Linked DNA regions of Homo sapiens: all the other regions are linked to region 5. The links are contacts of gene promoters, found by promoter capture Hi-C in blood cells and fetal thymus (Javierre and others, 2016). All regions are on one chromosome and are shown on one strand. Each heading gives the region's core, a stretch centred on a gene start or on the middle of the fragment in contact. The rest is flanking DNA. Distances are from core to core; before and after follow the strand shown.

Region 1 (5,121 bases), core at 1,824-4,323, 170 kb before region 5:
CAATTCTGAAGTTCTTAAGAAGTTGAGGACATATCGGAAAAGAGGTCCATCTCGATCAATAAAGTAATTGCCTTGAGGGTCTCGAGCTGTGGGGAAGTCCCCCCCAAACATAGCTCCAAGCATGGAATCCGGGTAACGCGTCAATGTGGTGAGAGACGTTGTATACAAGTGTCCACCTACATTTAATGTGACTGGGTCAGTCATCTGAAATTTGTAAAGAAATGATCAGTCATCTGAAATTTTTAAATACTAACTTTGACAAATTAAGAAAGTAAGTGATACTGAGCAAAGCCCAAGATTCTTTCAGGCTATAATGTATTTAGTAATCCTCTAATGCAAAATGACTTTACTACCAGCAATAAACCCACCCAGATGAAGTGATCTAACATTTGCTTTCAATAGAAAAAAAAAGGAGAAATCCAATTTCTCTTTAAAGACTTATGCTAAGAATACAGGGCATTGACTTCCAGAGCCAAATCATTTCAGGCCCATTATCTATAGAGTTTTCAGGCCAGAATATATGTGGGAAGGGAAAAGCCACGCTAAAATACACTTATTTTTTTCTGATTTTTTTTTAAGGCTTGCATTTTTCTGAATTTAATTTAACATTAGATAGAATTAAAATGATCTGATAATATAGACATTTACTTTCAATATTTCTTTGGTTTCTCCCCCTCAAACAAAAGGAACAAACTATGAAATTTGTTTTTAAAATAAAAATTTGGGCCAGGTACAGTGGCTCATACCTGTAATCCTAGCACTTTGGGAGGCCGGGGCAGGCAGATTGCCTGAGCTCAGGAGTTCAAGACCAGCCTGGGCAACATGGCAAGACCCCATCTCTATTAAAAATACAAAAAAAAAAAAAAAAAAATTCACTGGGTGTGGTGGCCTGAGTAGTCCTAGCTACTTGGGAGGCTGAGGTATGAGAATCACTTGAACCCAGGAGGCACAGGCTGCAGTGAGCCAAGATCATGCCACTTCACTTCAGCCTGGGCGACACAGAGAGATTTTGTCTCCAAAAAAAAAAAATTATTTAAATTAAATTAAAAACTGTGCAGACCTAATCTTGGTAACTTTTTCATGGAAGTGATACTTTCAAATACTAAGTTAAAATATACAGTTTAGTCAATACAACCAAGCCAGAAAAGCATCACATACCCAAAAGCTTACAGCAGCCATAAAATTTCATAATCTGATAGTGTATTCACTTTTGTAACATTAATGCTGCAATCTGGCCTTTAATTCTGAGAAGCAAGCTTCTCTTAAAAAACATACCTTCAGTTTTAGAAATACTATTTACGAAAAAAATAGGCCAGGTGTGGTGGCTCACACCTGTAATCCCAGCACTTTGGGAGGCCAAGGAGGGTGGATCACTTGAGCCCAGGAGTTGCTGACCAGCCTGGGCAACATGACAAAACTCCATCTCTACAAAAAATACAAAATATTAGCCACACATGTTGGTGCCCACCTATCGTCTCAGCTACTCAGGAGGCTGAGGTGGGACAATCACCTGAGCTTGGAAAGTCATGAGCCGAGATCACGCCATTGCACTCCAGCCTAGGGAAAAGAGCAAGACCCTGTCTCGAAAAAAAAAAAAAAAAAGGAAGAAAGAAAAAAGAAAGGCAGACAGAGACTTCAGGTATAGGCAAGTAAAATATACCTTACACCAAAGGAATAGAAAAATAGGGAGACATATGCACACACAAAAAATGCAAGTGGGGAGAAGAGGCACTTTCTCAACCATTAATCTCCCAAACCACAACAAAATATCCTCCAAACTCACTAGATCCCTTTGTAGTCACTATTCATGAAGAAAGAGTCTTCAGAGCAACACACTTGAAAAAATAAAAAATCACGTTACCTCTCCAGTGATTATAAAAAGTATTTGGAAAATCCATTTTGAGTTTGATTCCATTAAAACACCAAACAAAGGCAGAGGATCGTTTGAGGTCAGGAGTTCGAGATCAGCCTGGCCAACATGGTGAAACCCCGTGTCTACTAAAAATACAAAAATTAGCCAGATGTGGTGGTGCACGCTGATAATCCCAGCTACTCAGGAGGCTGAGGCAGGAGAATCTCTTGAACCTAGGAGGTGGAGGTTGCAGTGAGCCAAGATCGCGCCACTGCACTCCAGCCTGGGCAAGAAGGCGAGACTCCACATAAAAAAAATTAAATAAAAATTTAAAAAACACCACACAAGACAAAAACGCCTCCAAAATACATCTAAACTAAGTAAAAGGGGGAAGAGAGGTTACACAAATTCACAATTTTCTTTTCTTATAAGATATACCTAAAAATACATAAGGATAAAAAGACACACAAAAATAATTCCCCAGCCTTCAAAATGCATCTCCAAGAAGCACTCACCATATAGCCCCAGTCTCCATTATCCATCTGCTCCAGTGATGCGTCTTCAAGAGCCCAGGTTTCAGGGAAACTTCAAGAGGAGAAAAACAGACATATGATAGCATATATAACTAGGAAAATAGAGAAGAAAGTCTTTTTCCACCCAACAGAGGAGGCCAAACACCAGAAAAACTACTCGTCCTTGCTCAGCTGAAACCTACTACAGGGCAAAGATCTGGGGAAGAAAGCATTCCCCTAGGGCCTTCTACATGTCCTGTATTCTTACCATAGAGAACCCATCTGGAACTAAGAGACTGAAGATTTTCAGAGAAAGAACTATACTGTACTTAAGAGAAGGAGGAAGAGTCTAGGAAGTAACCCAGTCATTCAAATTCTACCTCTCTTCTTAGAACATCAATTTTTAGAATTTATATAAGAGAATATTATGATTAACTCTACAACCTTATCCTGGTACAAACCTATAATGGTCCTCACCAAAAAGGTCATTTAAGAAAAAGGGACAGGCTGGGCGCAGTGGCTCATGCCTATAATCCCAGCACTTTGGGAGGCTGAGGCAGGAGGATCACCAGGTCAGGAGTTCAAGACCAGACTGCCCAACATAGTGAAACCCCATCTCTACTAAAAATACAAAAAATTAGCTGGGCGTGGTGGTGGGCACCTGTAATCCTAGCTATTCAGGAGGCTGAGGCAGGAGCATCACTTGAACCCGAGAGGCGGAGGTTGCAGTGAGCCGAGACTGTGCCACTGCACACCAGCCCCTGCAACAGTGCGAGACTCCATCTCAAAAAAAAAAAAAAAAAGAAAAGAAAAGAAAAAGGGAGAAGGGAAAACTCCTTTTCATCAGCATTTCAGCTATACAAGCCAATCACCTGAGTAAAAACATCAAAAATCATAAACCTCCCAGGATACCAGCATCCCTTTCCAAGAGAAATACATCAGAATGGTATTTATCTTACAATATAAAAAAAAAAGATGATGCTTTTAAATAATGATGTATTTCTCTTTGTACAATTAAAACAAATAGAAAGTGATTTAAATGCCGAAGTGTTAAAGAGCACAATTTGGGGCAAAAAGAACCTTACCGATATAGATGAGAGTCAATCAGCCAGCACTCATGGAGAGCCAGCCTTAAGACACTGAGAAATGCTCAGATACTAATGATGCCAATGTGAATTTATTTTTATCTACAATTCAAAAGCATTTAAACAAACAGTTTCCCAGCTACTGAACTGCCTTAGTCAGTTCCCTCTCACACACTTCAATCCCAAATCAACCTGTAAAGCAAACTGCAGAGCAAATTTCTAAAGCTCTGGCAAGACATGGTAAGAAACATGGACTTATTGGTATTCATCCAGGAAAAGCACTGGCTTTTTTACGTGGTCCTTTAACAGATTCACTTTTCCCACTTTTAGAGGAATCTGGCACAGAATTCCCAGAACAAGCCCTAGCTACAGAAGATCACAAAGGCTCTTTCTCAAAAGGTCACTCAGGCATGTAGAGAACATTTGCATAGCACAGCATGGGCTGAAATCAGAGCCTGAAGCATCTATTTCTCTACCTTGCAAATCCTTCAAAGCACACAACTAAAATGTGGACCAGACTATGGGGCAGTCAGTTTTTATTCTTTACACTCAGCAGTTGGATATAGACAGGCCTCCACATGCTATGGGGTGAGAAATGGAACAAATGTCAAATTCAAGACTGTTATGACAGTCTTTCATTCCTCTGACTTGCTTCACAAATAGTATCCGAAGTAAACAGGACCAAGAAATGGGCTTTGCCAATTTGTCTTGCCAGGATCTGATTCAGTTACTGATAACAACAGATTAGTAACTGAGCAATTTAAAAGGCCACTCATCCAAAAGTTCTGGTAAGATGCTCATCTTTGGCATTTTCCCATCACCCAAAGTATTCATTCTGACAGCCTCAATAATCATTCATTCAGCCAACAATTATTGTGGGTCACCTATGGAGTGGAGGGGGTGCCTATGTGCAATGCGGACACACAGAAAGAGGAAAAAGACAATCTTTGCCCTCATGGAGCTTTCCATCTATAATGGAAGGCAACATGCAATGACTGAAGTACAGAACAGAATTCAAAGTGCTGTATAACAGATGGACCAGCAGAGGCCCGTGAGAGGGGAAAAGCAAGATTTCAAATGGGAAATAGAGGACTTCTGGGAAGAGCCCATTCAGTTGAATCCTTGAAAGAAAATTCGGACAACCTGAGAAGGGATTCTAGAAGGAAGAAACAATTTAATAGACAGGGGCATGAAAGACTTTTTTTCCCCCTACAACATTCCTGATACCAGTAGGCCGAGCAGGGATTACTATCCTCATCTTAAAGATGCAAAACAGAGAAACAAGGCAGATTAAGTGACTAGCTGAGGGCGCCACAGCTGGGAAGTAACTAGATAAGAACTTGCATGTTCTGACTCTTAGTCTAGATTTTTCCATAAATCCCCTCCTAGGGTAGAAATTGAAAGAACAGAATCCAAGAGACAAGAAATTGAAAAAGCTTAACTTTAAACTCTCTATAGCCATCTATTAACCCTATCCATCCAGTAGGGTTTTATTTACAAATTTTACAGTAACTCAGCCTAACTAAACAGTCATAATGGGTTTGTAAAAATTCTCCTGAGGCCCCCCCACCAAAAAAAGGCAGGAACCCATTCAACTAGTGTGAATAACGGTTGCTGTCCTGTCTGTAGTGACATAAAGAACTCCAATCCGTGAATATCCAAATGATTAAAT
Region 2 (5,589 bases), core at 293-2,792, 200 kb before region 5:
TTTTGCAGCTTTCTGAAATTCTAAAGTTATTTCAAAATAAAAAGTTAAACACAAAGAACAAGGAGACAAGTGTGATCATTGTTAGTGCTGGGTGTTAGGTACATGCAGGTTCATTATATTTTTCTCTCCACTTTTGTACAAGTTTGAAATATTTTGTAATTTAAAAAGCCTTTTTAAGCTAGAGAATTCAAGATTTCAGTGCAACAAATCAAAATGATCACATCCAAAACATACAGAACAGGGTCAGCTTCAAAGCGGATGAGAAAACAATTTAAACATGGAGAGTTTATTAAAAAGCCTTGCTCCAAGGGCCCCTGAGCAAGGCTTTCTTCACTGGGCACTTCCTGCAATCCAAGCCTTTCTCTATGGCAGAGAGGAACTAAGTCATTGCCCATGGTCAGTGATAGCATAAATCCTTGGCGGAGATGAGTCCAGGTGTAAGTAAGAACTTTCACCTCCAAACAGTGGGGCCAAGACCACCTTCCCTGAAACCACTGCCCACAGCAATGAGGACTGCCAGGAGTCTGAGCCCCACAGCTCCAGAAGGACCTACTAGGTGATAAGTTGCAAAGCTTGGGCCACAGGTCCTGCCTCTTCCTACAGACACAAGCTAGACACTACCTTGGGGATATGATGGGGTGCTGTGAGGCTCCTTACTGAGCAAATACCTTGCATTACAGGGGAGGCCAAGGCCCAGAAAGGAGTACACCTGCTCAGAGTCAACATAGCTCAGAAGTCCTGCCAGAACAGGAGCCTTGATCTCCTACTGGCCCCTTGATTTCTTTCCCAGTCTTACACAAATGTGTTACGTAATCTACTTATTGTGCAAACCCAAACAAAGTGACATCCCTCCCTGAGCCTGTTTCCTTACCTGCAAAATGGGGAGCCGCATCTGACTTTCCAAGGTGGTTATGCAGGGAGGGAACCTCTAAGCCTCTCATTCCTCTCACTAAGACCCAGCTCTCATCTGGATCCCACACACTACAGATGGATGCTTCACAAATATTTTTCCAGGGAATGTCAGGGGATGCTAAGCATAAGACAAGCCATATTTTAGAGCAGAAACATGGGGAGAGAGGAAAAACGTACACCTTACAGAGCAATCCTTTCACATGAGGACCATCTCAGGGGAGCCTATTAAGCTCGTGTGATATTAACAGCTTGAGTGCCTGAAGGGCACACAGTGAAAGATCAGGGAAGACCAGGATATCACTTTGGAAACACTGCTGGGGTACACAGCTTTTTGGTACAAGTAGTGTCAAAGGAATCCCTGGCTTTGAGATGTAAGGGCTCCAACCTCCCAGAAGTCCTCCCAGGGCAGCCCCAGCGACAGGCACAAAGGTCACACCCATGCAGGAAGAGAGGGAGGAAGGAGAGGAGCTCCATAAGCCCAGACAAGGGCTTGAGAGCAGACAAGGGCTTGAGAGCAGACAAGGGCTTGAGAGCAGACAAGGGCTTGAGAGCTGGCCAAGCAGTTTCTCTCAGCTTCTGTGTTCCAGCCCCTATGTGGGAGGAGAGAAGGGCAGGACCACAAGCCTGCCAGAGGCTGCGGCCTACAGCCGGGGAGAGGCCAGCCCGGCCTACAGTGCGGACACAGGACAGAGGGGAGCCAGGTGAGCCAGGTTTTTGGGCAGGGAGGGACTGGGAGACCCCAGAGGAGAGGGCTGCCCCCATGATGACCCTGTCCGCAGCTCCGAGAGACCCTGAGCAAGGCTTTCTTCACTGGGCACCTCCTGCAAATCAGGCCCTGCACTAAGTGTTAGGGTCACGGCATGACAGTGACAAAGATCCCGGCCCTCTTGCAGTTTCTGTGTTAGTAGCAGGGAGATGGAAGTAAACAAAAACATATGAAATGAGTAAATGATCTCAAATGTCAGAAGGGGATAAGTGAAAAGAGAAAAAGGAGAGCAGAGTGAGGAGGACAGGGAATGCCGGGGGAGGGGGCTTGGGGTTTTAAAGAGGGTGGCCTCTTTAAGGTTAAATGAGGTTCAATGCAAAAAGCCCTAGTGACATTTGAAGAAAGGGTGTTCTGGGCAGATGGAGATGCCCTAGCAAATGCTGGCAGTGGCAGGGAGGCCTGGAGCATTCAGAACAGCAAGGAGGCAGTGGCAGCAGAGCAAGGAAAAGAGGTAAGGCAGGACGAGAGGAGCCGCACTAGGGGCACTTGCAGGACTCCGGGGGGCAGAGGATGGGGCCCCTTGCCAGCACCCCCACAGCCCTGCTGGGGGTATTGGTTTGAAAGCCTCATATGAATCATTTGCTACATGTGGTTGCATGACCCTTATAAAGTCTCCTCCCTTTCCAAGGCCCACATCCTCTCCATAAAATGGTAATAACAGCAGTGCATCTGTCAGGTTGAGGTCAGGAAGGAAGGGGATCAAAAGCATGGCAGCCTGCCGGAGAGATTTACAACATACCTGCTGCAAGCTAGGAAATGCAGAGCTGGCCTCCCAGGCCTTGTGGGAGGAACATGTAAGCAAATAAGAACTTGTCCCTAACCCTAGAGCACCCAGGGAACGAGGGAGCTGAACTTTGTTCAGAGAGAACAGCAGGGGCAAAGGGTAGGAAGAGAATGAGTGGAGGCCAGGGATGAGGGCAGTAAGTTGACATAGGAGAGAGGTGAGTGGAGTAGGGTTGGGTAGACACAGCAAGGACTCCATTCCACAAACAGTGGGCCCCAAGGAGCAGATTCCAAGCAGGAGAGGAAAACAATGTGATTTGCAGTTCAAGAGTTCACCTGGCAGCTGGGAGAACAAATAAGAGGAACACTGAGGCCAAGTAAGAGATAACAGTGGCCTGGATGCTAGCCAAAGAGATAGCAAGGAGCAGATGGACTCAAGAGACTTGTGAAATAGGATGGACTGCACCTCATGGTTGCCTCACTGTGGAGGAATAGGGGCTTCTCAGAGGCCAAGCACTTGCCATGAAGGAGACAGGGTCCAACCTGGGTATGAAAGACACTCAGGGGCTCCAGGGGAACACTTCACAGGCAGGAAGAAGGCTTCCTCCCTTCAGTTCCACAATATACCTGCAGGGCTCATAGAAATGGAGCTGAGTGATCCTAGAACTTATGAGCAGTTTAATGAGACCAAGGTGCCCCCAGCAATCCTCCACAGTGGAGCTGTAGTATGGACAAGTCATGTGCTTTGTGGTCAGACCCCATCCAACTCCTGGCCATCTCCAGCTGTGTGGCTAGGGGCCACTCAACCTCTCCAGGATTATTTTCTTCAGGTGTAAGCTTCACTGACTTTTTTGTGAAGATTTCCCTAGGCAATTCATGTAACTCAAACTGCAGTGGATAGAGCCCAATCTTTGGGGTCAGGCCCTGTCCAATTTTGGCTAACAAGTATTGAACAAACATGTACCAAGCAATGGCTGCATACCATGCCTACCATGCACACAGTGCCTGGTCCACAGCCAGTGTCCACAGGGGGAGTGGGGAGGTGGAGTGGCATTCAGGTACTTAGGGATGTCTTTCTTCTACCAACCAGCCCTGGCTGACACCCAGCCCTAGGCAGTTCCTCTTGCACACAGGTTCTTTGCACTGACCAATGCTGAGAGCAGACCCTCGGAGCAGCCGGGTTGGAAGTGTCTCTCCATAGTCACCAGACAGATCCAGGATAGGATGGGCAGCCCAGTGCACCGAGTGTCATTGGGGGATACCTGGAGCAGGCAAATGCACCCCGACATAGAGAGCGAGAGGTATATGCAGTCCTTTGACGTGGAACGGCTCACCAACATCCTTGATGGAGGTGCCCAGAACACTGCACTCCGCAGGAAAGTTGGTAAGGGGAAGCTGGGGAATGGGACATCTGTTTTATGCCCCATGCTTCTCTTGTAAGAAGAGTCCTTCATTAGCAGTTCTGCTTCCAAATAACAAACTTTGCCCTTGAAATTCCACTGTTAGAGATTCATTCCTTCGAACTGTAAAGACAATCTTCACATGTCAATATTGCCTGAGCCCACCTAGGGGATAGAAGAGTCCTAGGCAGCAGAAGACCTGGATTCTGGTCCTAAAATTCTGCCACTGCATAGCTTTGTAACCTTGGGCAATTCACTTTCCCACCTTGGTCCTCAGTTTTGTCATCTGTAAAATAACAATAATGTCTGACTTCCTTTCCAGATCCATGAAGCAAGTGGGTGAGAAGATTTCAAGGTGCCAGAAACCTCACCCAGGTCCCTAAGCCCTCTGTTCTCTGTCCTCTGCAGAGAGCATCATCCACAGTTACCCGGAGTTTAGCTGTAAGGACAATTATTTCATGACCCAGAATGAGCGTTATAAGGCTGCCATGCGGAGGGCATTCCACATCCGGTTGATAGCTCGGCGCCTGGGTTGGTTAGAAGATGGTCGTGAATTAGGCTACGCTTACAGGTGCTCACTCCTCGAGCAGCCCCACTAGAGAGGGATCTACCTGGGATCACCTGGAAACCCCCTAGCCCCATGAGCCATTTCCCCCAACAAAGGGAAGACTTGTTGGGAAACCAGGATGCTAGGTGCCCTTTATCTCCTGTACTCTGCTCAGGCAGGGGGTACCTGGGCCCCTGTCTCCAATAAGCTACTCAACTACAGCATCTCTCCCCAACAGAGCCCTTTCTGGAGACGTGGCCTTAAATATACACAGAGTCTTCGTGAGAGCCCTCAGGAGCCTGGGCTCAGAGGAGCAGATTGCCAAATGGGACCCACTCTGCAAAAACATCCAGATCATCGCAACGTATGCACAGACAGAGTTGGGACATGGTGAGCTAGGACTGCTGCGTGTGGTGTTTAGGTTGTGCACTGCAAAACTCCAGAGGGCCCATTTACATCTAGGTAGTCATAGGTTCATATGCTCCGAGGGACATATGTTTAATAAGAAAACATTCCAGCAGCTGGCAGTCAAGGGTCCTGAGGAAGGGGTGCCACCTTCTAATTTGCACGTATTGTATGAGCTCCCAGTGGGGCAAGTCATTCCTTCTGGAAACATCAGCAGCCACCCCTTCTCATGGACTGGCTATAGGGGACTGTGTGTCCCACACACAGCCCACAGATGAAAGGGGAGAACTGCCTGCAAGTACAGCTGGGAGCTGGGCCCCACTCCATACTGCGCTGATGCCTAAGAGTTCAGACCCACCTAGAAGCAGCTTCACAGGTAAGAACCCCACCTCAGGCCAATGTCTAACACCTCTCCTTGATCCTAAGGGACATATCTTCAGGGCCTGGAGACTGAAGCCACCTATGACGCAGCCACCCAGGAGTTTGTGATACACAGCCCCACGCTGACTGCCACCAAATGGTGGCCTGGAGACTGTGAGTATACATCCACCCCCCTTCCTTAACTCTCCCCAAGTAGAAGAATGTTGGAGGGCAGAGTAGCACTGGCTTTGAGGTCCAACAGACCTCAGATTGATTTTCTGTTCTAGGCTGCTGACCTTGGGCAAGTCAGTTCACCAACCTGAGCCTCAGGTTCTTACTCTGTAAAATAGGTGGGATATTAAACATTTCATTAGTGAGTGGCTGGAAAGTCCCCAAAGGAACTTTGAAGTAGAGGAGACAATCGATCCATGAGAGACAAGGCCTCACTCACACACACACGCACAAACACACACACT
Region 3 (5,604 bases), core at 766-3,265, 130 kb before region 5:
GCCTGGTAAGCAGGGGTTCCTCTAACATATATAAAATACATACATTAATAAACTCCTGTTTGCTTTGCTTTTCTCTTGTTAATCTCTTTTGTTACAGGGGTCTTTTCCAACTAAGAACTTAGGAAAGTTGAGGAAAAATTTTTTTTTCCCAACATGCCCAAACTGCCCATGACCGCCACGTTGGTCCTGCCCCAGGAACAGACTACTGTGACCAGAGCCATGTATTCTTTGTTTTTTTTTTTCTTTTGAGACGGAGTTTGGCTGTTGTTGCCCAGGCTGGAGTGCAGTGATGCAATCTCAGCTCATTGCAACCTCCGTTTCCTGGGTTCAAGCAAGTCTCCTGTCTCAGCCTCCTGAGTAGCTGGGATTATAGGCATGCACCACCATGCCTGGCTAATTTTGTATTTTTAGTAGAGATAGGGTTTCACCATGTTTGTCAGGCTGGTCTCAAACTTCTGACCTCAGATGATCCACCTGCCTCGGCCTCCCGAAGTGCTAGGGTTACAGGGGTGAGCCACCACGCCCGGCCCCAGAGCCAGGTATTCTAATGATAAATTTGCCAGGTGACCAGTTCACCTGTTGACTAATTTGCATAATGAACAGTTTGCCTTGAATTCAGACCTCTTTTGAGAGTTTTTGCATTTATTCAGCTGCCCTATTCTTTTTTATTTTTTTAGTCACATTTTAGGCATTTTTAACGATTTAAAAAATTAACTTCCTCTAAGGGGCTTTTCCCCTGCTAAATCTCATATTTCTGATTATTTATGAAATGTATATTCTAAGCAATGAAATTGCTATTTATTGTGTGGGAGTCTTTTGATAATATATCAACCTTCAGACAAACTGTAAGATACTTTTTTGTAAGTTTACATAAAGACTCTTTCTTCAAAGTTGTATGTTTACAGCAAGAGACCCTTACTGAGTCTGATGTTCAAGATATTAAATTCAGAAAATTATCCTAGATTTTAAACATTAAATGAGTGCTCTTGGTGAGCAACTGAGCTGACTTTCATGGTGGCATGAGACACCAGCACAGCTCTTAGCAGCTAACCATAATTAATGTCTGATAATGAATAAGAATATACTAGGCCAAGTGTGTGATACCGGGTTCATATTCCATTTCAGTCCATAAATAAGTATTGTGTGTGACTATATTTATAATAAAAGCAGGCCAGACGCAGTGGTTCACGCCTATAATCCCAGCATTTTGGGAGGACAAAGCAGGCGGATCACTTGAGGTCAGGAGTTCGAGACCAGCCTGGCCAACATGGTGAAACCCCGTCTCTACTAAAAATACAAAAATTAGCTGGTCATGGCGGCACGCGCCTATAGTCCTACCTACTCAGGAGGCTGAAGCAGGATGATCACTTGAACCCAGGAGGCGGAGGTTGCAGTGAGCTGAGATCCTGCCATTGCACCCCAGCCTGGGTGACAGAGTGAGACTCAATCTCAACAAAAAATATATATATAATAAAAATTAAAACAACTAACATTTTTTAAAGGCTGGCCACGTGCTGAAGACTGGGCTGAGCTGTGTACTCCTGTTTTCTCTGTTTGTGGTGCTTCCTGAGAGCAGGGCCTTGTCTTTCCTCCCCAGCATATTCTCAGCTGGCTCATAGTAGATGCTCTATATTTTCAGAATAACTGAGTGACCTTGTTGGCTGGTACTGTTGTTATCTATCACCTCAAGTGTGTAAGTGAGGAAATTCAGGTTTAGGAGTTGTTACTTGCCCAAGAACAAGAGAAAGGGCAGCATGACCCTGGAGCCTGCATTCCTAACGCAGGTGAGTGTGACCTCACCCTTGTGCTCTAACAAGTAAAGCCCTAGAGGGAAGCAGGGGAGGATGATAGATGGATTAAAACATTATTTTAATGTGAGGCTCAGAGTTGGGGGACTGAGGGTGGGTGTGTAGGTACAGCGATCCATCCGTGGGATGGTTCTGAAATGGCTCTCTATGAACCCTAAATGCCTTTATTATTGGGAATGTGAGAGTAGAACATTCCAGAATGAGCGAGCCTTGGGACAGAGAACAAGCTAGGGACAGAGGCCAAGAGTACAACAGGTGGCCTGTTCAACATGTTGTAGCTTTCCAACAAAAGGTTAGCCTTGACCTCTCTTTTTTGCTTCATCTGACACATACAAATTATTTTATTTTATTTTATTTTATTTTATTTATTTATTTTTGAGACAGAATCTCACTCTGTCTCCCAGGCTGGGGTGCAGTGGTGCAATCTCAATTCACTCCCACCTCTGCCTCCCAGGTTCAAGCAATTATCGTGCCTCAGCCACCCAAATAGCTGGGATTACTGGTGTGGGCCACCACACCCTGCTAATTTTCTTTTTCTTTTTTTCTTTTTTTTTTTTTGAGACAAAATCTTGCTCTGTTGCCCAGGCTGGAGCGCAATGGCGCGATCTCTGCTCACTGCAACCTCTGCCTCCCCAGTTCAAGCGATTCTCCTGCCTCAGCCTCCCAAGTAGCTGGGATTACAGGCGCGAGCCACCATGCCCGGCTAATTTTTTGTGTTTTAGTAGAGACGGGGTTTCAGCATGTTGGCCAGGCTGGTCTTGAGTTCCGGGCCTCACATGATCCGCCCACCCCGGCCTCCCAAAGTGTGTGAGCCACTGCACCTGGCTAGTTCTGCATCTTTATTGTGGTGGTTGCCCAATTCCATACGTGCCACAAAATAGCATAGGACTATCCACACACTGTACCAATATCAATTGCCTTGTTTTGATATTGTGCTATAGTTACCTGAGCTGCAACCATTGGAGAAACTAGGTGAAGGGCACACAGGACCTCTTTGTACTCTCTTGGTAACTTCCTGTGAATCTATAATTATTTCAAAATAGAAAGGTTTTTTTTAGCTGGGCTCAGTGGCTTACACCTGTAATCCCAGCACTTTGGGAGGCCAAGGCGGGTGGATCACGAGGTCAAGAGATCGAGACCATCCTGACCAACATAGTGAAACCCTGTCCCTACTAAAAATACAAAAATTAGCTGGGCGTGGTGGTGCGCACCTGTAATCCTTGCTACTCTTGAGGCTGAGGCAAGAGAATCGCTTGAACCGGGTTGTGGGGTTTCAGTGAGCCAAGATCACACCACTGCACTCCAGCCTGGTGACAGAGCAAGACTCTGTCTCAAAAAAAAAGAAAGTTTTTTTTTTAAATTGTGGTTCAAGCATCCCCTGGTTTCTCCGATTTCCCTTTATAAACATTTGCAGAGATTCCGGTGAAGTGCAAAGATGGATATGCCTTTCATATACAGAAAGTTCCCTTATTCTTTTGACATCTTTATAATTTTCTGTTTCATGACTGTGCCAGGTATTTCTAAATTCAGACCCTAACCCATGAATATTTAGGTTATTTCCATTTTTTGCTGTTATAAATATTATCATAGTTGACATGAATCATCTTATCACTCATTGTTTTTGTGACTGTGTTTGCAGATTCCTGAAATCAAAACTGATTTTCTTAACAGCTATGCTATGTTGTCATATTTATCTGTGTTTTAAGCCACTATATACATTTTTTCAAAGAGCCTCAAAATTCCTAAAATAGATATTTATATCTACATTCTAAATGGCAAAAGAATGAGAGAAAGAAAGAAAGAGAGAGAAAGAGAGAGGGAGGGCGAGGCACGGTAGCTCATGCCTATAATTCAAGCACTCTGGGAGGCCAAGGCAGGCATATCACTTGAGCACAGGAGTTTCAGACCAGCCTGGGCAACATAGGGAGACCTCGTCTGTACAAAAAATACAAATGTTAGCCAGGCATGGTGGCATGCCCCAGTAGTCCCAGCTACTTAGGAGGCTGAGGCAGGAGGATTGTTTGAGCCTGGGAGGTGGAGGTTGCAGTGAGCCAACATCATACCACTGCATTCCAGCCTGGGTGACAGATTGAGACCCTGTCTCAAAAAATACATATAAAACAAAAAAATTTTAAATAATTAAATGGCAAAAATAGTCTTGCTATGGTTTGGCTGTGTGCCCACACAAATCTCATTTTGAATTGCAGTTCCCATAATCCCCACATGTCATGGGAGGGACCAGGTGGAGATAATTCAATCAGAGGCAGTTACCCTCTTGCTGTTCTCATGATAGTGAGTGAGTTCTCACGAGATCTGATGGTTTTATAAGGGGCTTCCCCCTTTGCTCAGCATTCACTTCTTTCACCTGCCACCGTGATTGTAAGTTTCCTGAGGCCTCTCTAACCACGTGGAATTGTGAATTAATTAAATCTCTTTTCCTTATAAATTACCCAGTCTCAGGTATGTCTTCATGGCAGCATGAAAACAGAATAATAGTCTGCTTCAAGTTACTGTACATGTTCAACATTAATAAAATAACATTTCTGGCTGGGCACAGTGGCTCATGCCTGTAATCCCAGCATTTTGAGAGGCCAAGGCAGGTGGATCGCTTGAGCCCAGGAGACCAGCCTGGGCAACATGGCAAGACCCCTGTATCTACAAAAAAAAAAAAAAAAAAAGAAAAGAAAAAATTAGCCAGGAGTTGTGGCACGTGCCTGTGGTCCCAGCTACTTGGGAGGCTGAGGTGGGAGGATCACTTGAGCCCAGGAGGTGGAGGTTGCAGTGAGCCAAAATTGTGCCAATGCATTCCAGCCTGGGGGGGAGAGAGTGAGACCCTATCTTAAAATAAATTTAAAAAATCAAATAACATTTCTGTGTGGTTAATTTAAACTAGTCATTTATCTATTGGCATTGATTCAATTACTTTTAAAAAGGAATATACACACTATTATAATATAGTTCTTTTTCACACACACCCAGAGATAATGTGATGAAATCTTGCCTCCCTAAATATAAGAACAAAACATAAGACTGGTATAATCGTTCAGAGAGACATTAACACCAATGCTATAAGTCAGTTCTAATGTATTTAATAAAACGGCTTTCCTTTAGTCAAAAAAAATTTTTTAATCTAGTGAAGTAATCAGCATCGAAATGTTTGGGACACTGAGAAGTGTCTCTTTTGTGCCTGGAAATAGGTGTTTTATTCATCCTCTGGAAGTTTACAGTACAGTGTGTGGGCGAAGCTTTCTGGACAACCTGTCCCTCTGTCAGCTTTTTGCCTCTGCAAAGCCAAAATGTGGGTTCTGTGTCTGAGTATTGCAACCCACAAGAAACGTGGCTAAGGCCAGAAAACATAAGTGTGAATACTTTTGGAAGGCTGCGCATCTCATGAGTCACATGGGAGCAGCCCCGACCGTGGTTTGTGCACCTTCTGCCCTAGCAGCTGCCAGTCAAGCGAAGAGGCGACCTCTAGGGGTGAGCCTGGGCAACAAAATAGTCACCTTCCCCTGGGAAAGCGAATGTGGGGATCCACCTTTAGGAATTCCCTTTTCTAAAAAGCTACGCCTCTAAAGCTTTCAAAAATGAAATTCTATCAATAAGGTACCAGAAGTAACCAAATGGACCCATGTGTGTGCCTGCGTGTGTACGCATGCGTGCATGCCCATATAAACTGAGTATCAGTAGGAGCAGGAAACTAGTATCCGTGCTGGCCTCCTGGGAGGGGAACCGCATAAAGGAGATGGGGACAGCAGGGAAACTCACTTTCCCCTCCCCTCAACTTTTATTATGAAAA
Region 4 (5,305 bases), core at 1,577-4,076, 190 kb before region 5:
CAGCTGGGACTCTGGCACCGCCAATAACTGGAAAACTAAAGTGATCACGCCAATCCTCAGGCCTCAGACCCAGAAAATGGCAGCCTTGGAACAGGAGAGCCCTGAAGGGCTGCAGAGGCCCTCGTGGGACAGGGCTGGTCAGGCAGGCTGGACGTTGAGCACCACCACGTGACCCACCACCTCCACCACACCACACGTGATGGGATTACCTCTGCAGCCCTCAGTTCTGCTCAGCCTACAGCAGGGGCACCCCCTGCTGTGCTAACTGTCCTGTCAACACAGAGGGTGAGCCAAGGCTTCCTGCTTTCACTGGATCACCAAAACAGAAACCACAGCCACCCATTATCCACTCATTCATTTTCCAAACCTATGGCCTGCCTTCAAATGGACCAGATGCTGCTTGCCAGGGTTACTTCATTTAATCCACACAGCCCTGGGAGGGAGACTGACATTATTTCCACTTCAAGGGTGAGGAAAGAGAACTCAGGACTTAGGTCCCAGAGGTAGGAAATAGCTGAGTCCAGATGCTTTCCCTTCCCACACCACTGAGGGTGTGATGAGTGACTGAGGTGAGCAACAAATTCTGGGGGGATGGAGGGTGACAGCCAGCCAGCCTGCGGGGGAAGAACACGTCCCTGACAGCTTCCTGGGGAGGTGGTGCCCCAGCTGAGTCTCCAAGGTCATAATGGATAGGGCTTTCTGTACTCTCTGTGCTTTGTGGGGTTATTTAGTCTACAGAAAGCTTCAGCACCCAACTGGGCCCCATCTAGAAACCATAAATGTGCAGGTAGAGATAACTGCAACTTGAGGGAAGAGGGGATGATACTGCCAGAAGAGTAGACAAGGGGGAGCCACGGGCTAAATTCTGGTCCCAGCTCTGTGTGACCTCAAGCAGCCCCTTCCCTCTCTGGGCTTTAACTTCCCTGTCTGTAGACAAAGGGGCATGGAAGAGCCCTTTAGGCTCTGTCAGGCCGTGGTCCTATAATTCAGACTCTGACCAGAAGAGATGTCAGTCTCCAGGACCATGGGAACAAATGCTGGCCTCATTATAATCCAGCCTCAGTCTCCTGTGGCTTTGGCCACACAGGGTTAGGAATACAGCCCTGGTGTGGATCTCACTGCTACCACTTCCTAGCCATGACCTTGGGCAAAAAACTTAATCTTTCAGAGCCTCAGTCTCTTCGTCTGCAAGATAGAGCTAATAACAGTACCTACTTTGTAGGATTCTAATAAAGATTAAATAAGTAAAACTTAGAGAGGCAGCTAGCACCCCCACCCCCAAATTAGACAGGAGGCAAGATTTAAACCAACACACACAATGTAAATAATGTTCACTGTGCTCAGAGCGTGGGGCCAAGGTTCAGCTCAGCCCTTCCCCAAAGTGTAGAGGTCACCTCTGTCTCTGATCCTCATCCTGCTTTTTAAGGCCCAGGCCCCTGGGCAGCTCTCCATCACTCCACTCCTCAACTCAGAGCCTTGAGCATTTGAGGATGTGGCTCTCAGATTAGGACAGGAAAAGGAGTGCGGGTCCGCAGTTCTGCCAAGCTGGACCCAGTCTGAGCAACAAAGGCTACTGGAGCCAGCAGAGGCAACACAGCACATCTGCTCACCTTCCACAGCCAAATGCTGCAAGCCCAGCATGGCTGTGAGCACACCATGTCTGAATGGCAAAGTGGAGTTGTCAGCACCTGTGTGAGGGCCCCCTAGGAAACACAAGTTCTTTCCAAGTGAGAAAGCGGATCGGGTCACTGCCCAGCTGAAGACTCCCAGTCCCACAGAGCAAATTCTGACCATGTTATTCACAGCCCTTCACTGACCTGGGCCCCAGGTATGAGTCCACCCTAACCTCCATGGTTCCCCATCATCACCTCATTATACCACCACACTTCAGCCTCATTAAATTGCCTGCAGCTTCCTGAAAGTACAGCCTTTTGCACATAAAGCTCCCCCTGCCTGGAATGACCTTTCCCCCAACTCATGTCCGCCTGGGTGAACTCCTTTGAACCCCCAAGGCACTCTTTTTTTTTCTATGATAGAGTCTCACTCCACCACCCAGGCTGGAGTGCAGTGGCACGGTCTCAGCTCACTGCAACCTCCACCTCCCAGGTTCAAGCAATTCTTGTGCCTCAGCCTTCCGAGTAGCCAGAATTACAGGTGTGCACCACCACACCTGGCTAATTTTTGTATTTTTTGTAGAGACAGGGTTTTGCCATGTTGGCCAGGCTGGTCTCGAACTCCTGACCTCAAGTGGTCCGCCCACCTCAACTTCCCAAAGTGCTGGGATATAGGTGTGAGCCACCGCGCCCAGCCGAACCCCCAAGACACTCTAAGTCTTGCTACTGAAAATCACTACAGCAGCATGGGCATCACAGGGGACCTTGTTAGAAATGCACAGTCTCAGGCCCTGCCCTGGAATCTGCATTTTGACAAGATCCCCAGGTGATCTATATGCACATAAAAAACTGAGAGGCAGGGCGGGGTCCAGAGGCTCACGCCTGTAATCCCAGCACTTTGGGAAGCCAAGGAAGGAGGATCACTTGAGCTCAGGAGTTCGAGACCAGTGTAGGCAACATAGCAAGACCCTCGTCTCTACTAAAAATACAAAAAAAAAAAAAAGCCGGGCATGGTGGTGTGTGCCTGTGGTCCCAACTACTCAGGAGGCTGAGGTGGGAGAATCACTTGAGCCCAGTGGGACAGAGGTTGCAGCAAGGCAAGATTGCAACACTGCTCTTCAGCCTGGGTGACAGAGTGAGATTCTATCTCAGAAAAAACAATTAAGAAGCACTGCTTTATACTTTCTCTCTTCCTTGCTCTCCCTTATAGAACTCATATATCCTACCTGACAAAATAATTGTGTGTGCTTGTCTTGACGAGATGCGGACTGTTCAAAATATGTTACAACCAGTAGGACAAGGCACCAACCAATCAAAATGGACTTTAGCCCTAGGGGAAGCAAGGTCCTGAAGGCCTCCTGCTGAGTCAAACATTAATCCTTTAGTTGCTGGGCTGTGGAGAGAAGGAGGGGGTCTTCGGGAAGGAGTCCATCTGGCAGAAGGGGCTCTCACAGGGTTGATGGCAGTGGACAGTTGCCAGCTGGTATTAAAGTATTATTTTTACAACTGCCACAGCCAGACCATAACATATGGGCTAAATAACAGCACTGCTTACCTTAAGGAGTTTATACTCTAGCTGGAATAAATTTCATATATATCTTGAAACTTTCTCACCCCATGGTGCACACATGTGCACGCACACACACACACCACTGACTTGAACACAGCAGACAACAAATAGCTATTTTCTTTTCTTTTCTTTTTTTTTTTTTTTTTTTTTTTTTGAGATGGAGTTTTGCTCTTATTGCCCAGGCTGGAGTGCAATGGCATGATTTTGGCTCACTGCAACCTCCGCCTCCTGGGTTCAAATGATTCTCCTGCCTCAGCCTCCCAAGTAGCTGGGATTACAGGCATGCACCACCATGCCTGGCTAATTTTTGCATTTTTAGTAGAGACAGGGTTTCACCATGTTGGTCATACTGGTCTCAAACTCCTGACCTCAGGTGATCCACCCACCTTGGCCTCCCAAAGTGCTGGGATTACAGGCGTGAGCCACCGCGCCCAGCCTTAAAATAGCTAATTTCTTAAGAACAGTGGTGCTGTCCTCCACCTTCCCCAGGCCAGCCTCCAATATGCCTGTATTCTTTCCTTCTACTTTCCAACCTACTTGAAACCGCTCCAAGCAAAAGAAAACAAGGGCCATGTTTCAAAGCCCACCAGTCCCCCCCGTCCCCGCTCCCCCCCCCAACACACACATATACACAACATCAAAACGCCTTGATCAGACCCAGAGCTAGGAGAAAAGGCAGCTGCTCATCAGCCTGCTGGGAAGCACATCATGCCTCAAGTTTATTCCAGCCATCTTGCCATGCTTCCAGGGTGACTTCTGGAGTAGAAAACCAGAAATCAGGAGAACATATCTTTGTGTCTTTGTAGGTGCACTGCTACTATGTCACTGTGAAGGGTTTTACAGAAGCTCTGGAGAAACTAGAAAATGAACCAGCGATTCAGCAGGTGCTCAAGCGCCTCTGTGACCTCCATGCCATACATGGAATCTTGACTAACTCGGGTGACTTTCTCCATGACGCCTTCCTGTCTGGTGCCCAAGTGGACATGGCAAGAACAGCCTACCTGGACCTGCTCCGCCTGATCCGGTGAGTGGCAGAGACTTCAAACCATGTTAGTCTTCAGAGAATAACCCTACCCCTTGTTCACAGGTCACTTCCAACTCCAAAACCTTGCTAATGGGCAGAGCAGCAACAGCCCTGGAGAGGTCTACACCCTATTATCATTACACCAGCATAAAGCATTATGAATTAATGAAAGAAAAAAATGGGAAAAAATGGGAAAAATACTGAAGAATAAATGAGCTACCTCAGTTGAACTCTTTACATTGTCAAGGAAATAGGAATAGTATCTAAGGAAAATCAATAAAATGAAGCATGCTACATATGAATGATATGTGCTAATGTGCTAATAATAGTCTCAACCATAGCTAACTTTTTTTTTCTTTTCTTTTTTTTTAGACAGGGACTGGCTCTGTCACCCAGGCTAAAGTGCAGTAGTACAATCTTGTCTCATTGCAACCTCTGCCTCTGGGTTCAAGTGATTCTCCTGCTTCAGCCTCCCAAGTAGCTGGGATTACAGGTGCCCACCCCCATGCCCAGCTAATTTTTGTATTTTTAGTAGAGATGGGGTTTCGCCATGTTGACCAGGCTGGTCTCCAACTCCTGACCTCAAGTGATCCACCTGCCTTGGCCTCCCAAAGTGCTGGGATTACAGGTGTGAACCAACGTGCCCAGGCATAGCCAACCTTTAAAGAGCACTTATGTGACAGGCCCTGTGCCAAAAGCTTTTACATACATCTCATTTAATCCTTACAGCCCTTTGAAATGGGTACTATTAATCTCCTCATTTTATTGGAAAGGAAATTCAGGCTGATGGGAGTTGCCCAGTATCACACAATCAGCCAGAGGAGGGGCTGGGTACAATCTCAGGTCTGGCCCCTGGGCATGAGCTCTTAACCTGTATGTTAAGGTTAAGGTTGAGGTATTATATACTTTGAACACATCCTAGTCTTTGTTGAATGTGCTTAAGCAAATTCTTACCAAGTTTAGTAAACTTACCTTAATCTTCCCTCAGCTTCAAGATGAAAAATTTTTTTTAACTCTGTAATTCATATATTGATTTATAAAATAATAACACAAAGTTTTTTAATGCAGCATTAATGCAGTGCCATGTATGGTGAATGA
Region 5 (5,655 bases), core at 2,726-5,225:
TGCACTCTAGTCTGGTGACAGAGCGAGACTCTGTCCCCCACCCCCCAAAAAAAGGAGAAAACTGAGATGAAAAGCTATCACACACAGCCTACCCACCAGCAAAAATTGGATGTGCACATTTGATAACAGCGCTTTCCAAAACTTTGTTTCCTCTGGTTTCTATTTCAGCTATGTAAGCATTTTTTTAGTCTACTAACTTTAAAAAGTTTTCCCTTTTATATAGCCAAGAACTTACCTTTCCCTTGTCCTCTCTTGGTCCTCCTAAATTTTCTCACAACTCACCTGTGTGGCTTTTCACCAGAATTCCTTTTGTCTGGAAAATCTTCCTTCTTCCTCCAAACCTAACCTGAAAGCATCCTCCCCCTAAATACTAGCCTTTCTGATTTTATAGAAGCTTCATTTCCTTGCAGCAGAGGGCTGGTCTAGCTCTTAATGCTAAATTCATTTTGCTCCATAAAAATGATGCATCAGCATCAGCAAAGCACAGAATCACCTACCAACACATGTCCTTTCTGCCAGTTGCTCATCCAAATATGCCTTTCTGGTGGTGACCTTGTGTTCCCTTCATCCTTCTGGTGACTCAGTTTTCCAAACCACAGAATTTTTCCCTACCAAGTTCACAAATCCTAAATCATTTCTGTTATAGGTGGTTTCCCAGCTGGGTGCAGTGGTTCACACCTATAATCCCAGCACTTTGGGAGGCTGAGGTGGGAGGATCACTTGAGGTCAGGAGTTCAAGACCAGCCTGGGCAACACAGCAAGAACCCCATTGGTATTAAAAAAAAAAAAAAAAAATATATATATATATATATATATATATATATATATGTTTCCCAAGGTTAAACAAACTTGATAAATGAAAGGAACTATGGACAGAAATGAGCTTGCTTGCAATAACGCCCTCTAATGTGTTTAACGCTTTGCACAAATGTTGTCAGGGAGTGAAGAGATGGAGGGAGGAAGGAATACATTTTACAAATACTTCATCAAGATGATTTCATTTGATCTTCCTAACAACCTTGGGAGGCAGGCAGGGCAGGCATTTATTACTCCCATTTACAGATGACAAAACTAAACTTCAAAAAGGTTTAAGTGACTTGCCCAGCCTATATCACATGACTAGCAAGTATCAGCTCAGACCTGTATTAAGGTCTTGCCTCTTCCAACCCCAAGTCTGTCTCTAACTCCGTATGTTTCTGTCTACAGCCAAGGAGTAACTTCCTAGAGATTCAGCATTTCAAAGCGAGAGTAGAGCTCTGACTTCTGGAACACCATCTCCCTTCAGCTACCAAGCTGGAAAGCCAACTTCAATCTCCCCAAGAAAAAACAGTGCCTTTCTCTTCTACATACCCCTCTTAACAACTACTTCTTTCCAAAATAATTTCCAACAGTTCCTGTTTTAAAAAAGACTTACTCATAAGACACTAACAGTCCAAAAAGTTTGCATCAGCGTAAGATTTTCTCAATAAACTTCAGGGCTGATGCAACATTTCTCAGTCAAACTTTACAGCTAAAATGACAAGAACACAGAACAGTCAAAAAATTACGCAAGACAATGCTACAGTTTTTTACTCTACCACATCTGCCTCTATGGGTCTCCTGTGAGTCACTGTCTTTTGTGGTCAGTCATCCCTACAAGAACTGCCATTTTCTACCCTAAATTATTTTATTTTTTAAAGAAAAGATCTGCAGGGCCAGGTGTGGTGGCTCACATCTGTATACCAGCACTTTGTGGGGCTGAGGCAGGAGAACGGCCTGAGCCCAGGCGTTCCAGACCAGCCTGGACAACATGGTGAGACGCTGTCTCCACACACACACACACACACACACACACACACACACACACACCAGCCTGGACAACATGGTGAGACGCTGTCTCTACACACACACACACACACACACACACAGACACACACACACACACACACACACACACACCCTTACAATAAAAACAGAATCCTATTACATCTTTCGCCACCTAGCTAAAGCACTGATCTCTAAGTTATTTTTTCAATGTTTACAATTACCATTTTACATAAACAGAAAAAGAGGCATAGTAAGGTTGAAGTTGGATTATTTAGTCATTTGATAAACACATTTGAAATCCTATCAAAAACCAGGGAATGAGACTCAAAAGTGAGGAAGAAGTGCCCCTCCTCTTGTAGCCTGGTGGAGACAAAAAGTAAAGAAGTAATTACAGGACAAACTAATCAAGATTAAGGTGTGGGTAGGCACATGGGCTGGGGCTGTAGAAATCATGAATGCTTCCTAGGGAAAGTAATTTGTGAGTATTTAGAAACATCTATCTCTTTATTTTCAATACAAAATAAACCTAAAGGACTCGACACTATTCCCTGAAAGGTTATAAGACTTACTTGCCAATAGTCAAGTCAAAAATCAAATTTAATAGCTGAATTACTCTTGACTCCCTATCCTAAATTTCAACCCTTATGCCATACTCCCTTTAGGCACAAATGATAGCAAGTTTAACAAATTCTGTCCTGTATGTGCCTTCTCACATGTCTACAGAATAGGATTAAAGACACACAGCGTGAAATAAATAGCCCTTTTTAAAAAGATAATAATTTTCTTAACTGGAAGTGAATGCTTTGAACAATTCAAGCCCTACAAAGCACGGCTGTCAGAAGAGGAAACTGAGGTTCAAAAAAGTCTCACTTTAATACAACAGAATAAAAGGTCTCTTTGAAGTCATCAGAAGAGCTTGAACGAAAAGAGAAACAGAAGGCTATTGTGAGCTTTAGCCTCCAGATGATGACCCCCCAAACACACTGCAATGGTAAACAAACAAGCCTCTGAGTCTGAATCTGATTCGGTGGACTGACAAAACATCACAATTGAAGGAATCTCTCTCCTCACTCATTACTTTTCCAAAAAAGTCCCACTAGCTGATAGCTCCAGGTTTCTTGCTGGTTCCTAGATTTATTGCTTGGAAATTATAATGCATAGTGGGCCTTTCAAAAAAAAAAAAAGGTACAAGCAAATGAAAACAACCACGGTTTTAAAGCCCCATAAAAGACCGTATATGTAGCAGAAATGAACCCTGCCAATGTTTACTATGAGGACCTATTACTCCTTTATGCTACTCGAGTGGATTTTAAACTCAAATGAATGCTACCACTGCCCACTAAAGAGCAAGTTAGAGAAGCACATTCATACACCTGCTTAACAGCGCCCCGACTGCCGCCCCCACCACTTCCCGGGACCAGGGCCAAGCGGCTGACCTGGAAACGGGGCTGCAGACCCCAGCCACTTACACTCTGCTGTCCCAACAAGTAGGCTCTGGAGTCACACTTCATTTGGCCCGGCACACCCTCATCCCCATCACCCAGACCCTCAGCTGCAAGGAGGAAATTACACGGCCTCAAAAAGGAAAAGGCTGGCGGCGGGCAGAAGTGGATGGTCCTGAGCGGTCTCGTTCCTGCTCCCCTAGTCCAAGGTGAGCCCGGGAATCCCGCAGCCCCCGCCCCCGCCCCCCAACTCGGAGTCGCTTTCCTGGTCGCCGCCGAGCTCCTTCCACCCCGCGGCGCCGGGAGCTGCGGTCCCCATCCTTGGCCCCTCCGGGCCTCAGCGTTCGCCTGGGCCCCAGGGGCCCTGACCCAGACCCAGCGGCGCGCCACAGCCTTCTCGGCCAGGGCCGCCCACCCTGTGGCCCGGTCTCCGTCCGACGACCCTGCCCGGCCCGCGCCAGGCAGCCCGCAGCCCCCTCGCGGCCCGGGGCCGCCCCACGCCGCCCGCCCGCCCGCTGGGCCGCGCACCGTGTGGGACTGCAGGCTCTGGCTCGCCTCGATGGCTGCTGTCAGCGGCACCGTGTCGTCCAGCAGCACCTTGCCGGCTGGCGGCTTCTCCATGAAGGCCATCCCGGGACGCCCGGCCGCCGCCGCCTAGGGACGCGAGGTAGGAACCCGAGGCGCCGACTCCCGCCGCCCGCCCGGTTCCACCGCCGCCGCTGTCAACACGCGCCGCCCCACGCGCCGCCGGGCCCGCGGGGTCCTAGCGCCGCCCTTCCCACGGCCGCCGCCCCGGAGTCCTAGCGCCGACCCAGCGCAGAACGTGTGGGGGCCGCCAGCACTGCCGCCCGCTGGCCCGCTCCTCCGCCTCGCGGCTGCCATGGGCCTGCGCTTCCCTGCTCCTCGCAGCCGCACCGCAGACCCGGTGCCCTTAGCTCCGGGCTTCGGACCAGGGAACACCACCCTAAGCCATCACTACCAGGATCCTCAGATCCAGAGACGCCTGGTCCTGAGCCCTGGGATCCAGGAATCTTCAGGGCGAGATTTCCAAACCAGGCCTCTCAGAACTGGGCTTTTCGGGGACCGTACCTCTTGAAACCCTCAGAACTGGATCTCTCTCATCCCCCAGGCCCAAGGACCCTAAAACTCAGAAAAAGGGCCTTTAGGATGGGACCCCCAGTCTGAGCCCTGCAAACCCAGAGACTTTCTGAAACAAGCCCTTCCTATTGAAACTTCACAGGGACTCTTGAACGTGGCTCCTCAGGCCTGAACACCTAAGAGCTGGACCCCATAATTGGAGGTCTTGGGCCCCAGAACCCTCAGACCCAAGCTCTAAGAACTGGAGACCCTATAAAATGGTCCAGAGACCCCTAGCCTCTACTCTTGGCCCCCACTGCGGGCTCAACCACATCCCTTAGACTTGGGAGTTTTTGATCCCACCATATGGACTAGAAGAACTTCAAACCAAGAGCCAAGCCAGAGAACCTTGGGATCAACTTCTCAGCCCTAAATCTGCCCACAGTCTGCCTGAACCCAAAGCCATAATCCTGGCACCACCTCATCCCCCCCATCTCCATATACACCTAGAAATTTCACCCACACTGCCCTCTCCTAGGGCAGCATTCCAGGATAGTGAAGAGTTAAATTTAGAATTGGAGGACCATCATCTCCATGGCTCTGGCATTTACCAGCTGTGTGATCTTCAATAAGTTACCCAACCTCTCTGAGTCCCAACTCCCCAATTTGCAAAGTGGAGATAATATTATTTGTATGAAAAGGTTAATACAAGGAATGCAGTAGACTGGGAAGGGGCTTGGCACATAGTAAAAACTCAAACGGTGGTCAGGCATGATCGCTCACGCTTGTAATCCCAGCACTTTGGGAAGCCAAGGTGGGTGGATCACCTGAGGTCAGGAATTTGAGACCAGCCTGGCCAACATGGCAAAACCCCCTCTACTAAAAATATAAAAATTAGCTGGGCATGGTGGCACGTGCCTGTAGACCCAGCTACTCTGGAGGCTGAGGCAGGAGAATTGCTTGAACCCGGGAGGGGGAGGTTGCAGTGAGCCAAGATCATACCACTACACTCCAGCCTGGGTGACAGAGTGAGACTCTGTCTCAAAAAACAAACAAAAAAACAGACAAACAAAAACACCTCAAACCGTGGTCAGGCATGATGGCTCACCTTTGTAATTCCAGCACTTTGGGAGGCTGAGGAGAGTGGATGGCTTGAGTCCAGGAGTTTAGCCTGGGCAATATGGTGAGACCCCGTCTCTACAAAAAAATTTTAAAAATACCTGGGCATGATGGCTCACACCTGTGGTCCCAACTACTCAGGAGGCTGAGGTGGGAGAGTTTTTTGAGCACAGGAGGTTGAAGCCGCAGTGAGCCATGATCATGCCACTTC

What was found. The method cuts DNA at HindIII sites, captures the fragments that hold promoters and counts their contacts. A CHiCAGO score of 5 or more calls a contact.
Region 1: a fragment that was not itself captured here is called in contact with the fragment with the promoter of PXK in region 5 in 15 of 17 cell types (total CD8 T cells, naive CD4 T cells, total CD4 T cells and 12 more); the score reaches 18.1 in total CD8 T cells.
Region 2: a contact is called between the fragment with the promoter of ACOX2 here and the fragment with the promoter of PXK in region 5, in 17 of 17 cell types (naive B cells, naive CD4 T cells, total CD8 T cells and 14 more). The highest score is 22.9, in naive B cells.
Region 3: a fragment that was not itself captured here is called in contact with the fragment with the promoter of PXK in region 5 in 4 of 17 cell types (total CD8 T cells, total CD4 T cells, naive CD8 T cells and 1 more); the score reaches 6.4 in total CD8 T cells.
Region 4: a fragment that was not itself captured here is called in contact with the fragment with the promoter of PXK in region 5 in 1 of 17 cell types (naive CD8 T cells); the score reaches 5.9 in naive CD8 T cells.

Annotation. Positions count from the first base shown.
Region 1 is chr3:58,496,029-58,501,149 of GRCh38, reverse strand. It overlaps KCTD6 (potassium channel tetramerization domain containing 6), which reads right to left. Exons shown (of 3, transcript NM_001128214.2): 2 at 2,368-2,437; 3 at 1-204. The coding sequence starts at 2,394. Among named protein-coding and RNA genes, the nearest start is that of KCTD6, 6.5 kb to the right of the region's middle. The HindIII fragment of the contact is 3,629 bases long and covers 1,259-4,887 here.
Region 2 is chr3:58,533,143-58,538,731 of GRCh38, reverse strand. ACOX2 (acyl-CoA oxidase 2) reads left to right here and starts at 1,542. Exons shown (of 15, transcript NM_003500.4): 1 at 1,542-1,613; 2 at 3,535-3,785; 3 at 4,210-4,372; 4 at 4,587-4,738; 5 at 5,180-5,287. The coding sequence starts at 3,626. It overlaps LOC107984079 (a long non-coding RNA gene), which reads right to left and starts at 3,360. Exons shown (of 3, transcript XR_001740724.2): 1 at 2,418-3,360. The HindIII fragment of the contact is 2,666 bases long and covers 575-3,240 here.
Region 3 is chr3:58,463,532-58,469,135 of GRCh38, reverse strand. All of the region lies in intron 1 of LOC107986092 (a long non-coding RNA gene), which reads right to left. Among named protein-coding and RNA genes, the nearest start is that of KCTD6, 26 kb to the left of the region's middle. The HindIII fragment of the contact is 6,081 bases long and covers 1-5,055 here.
Region 4 is chr3:58,516,108-58,521,412 of GRCh38, reverse strand. ACOX2 (acyl-CoA oxidase 2) reads left to right here. Exons shown (of 15, transcript NM_003500.4): 13 at 3,990-4,207. Among named protein-coding and RNA genes, the nearest start is that of ACOX2, 18 kb to the left of the region's middle. RefSeq lists an enhancer at 144-661. The HindIII fragment of the contact is 4,163 bases long and covers 745-4,907 here.
Region 5 is chr3:58,331,212-58,336,866 of GRCh38, reverse strand. PXK (PX domain containing serine/threonine kinase like) reads right to left here and starts at 3,975. Exons shown (of 18, transcript NM_017771.5): 1 at 3,777-3,975. The coding sequence starts at 3,878. RefSeq lists silencers at 3,131-3,425, 3,672-4,201. The HindIII fragment of the contact is 5,516 bases long and covers 397-5,655 here.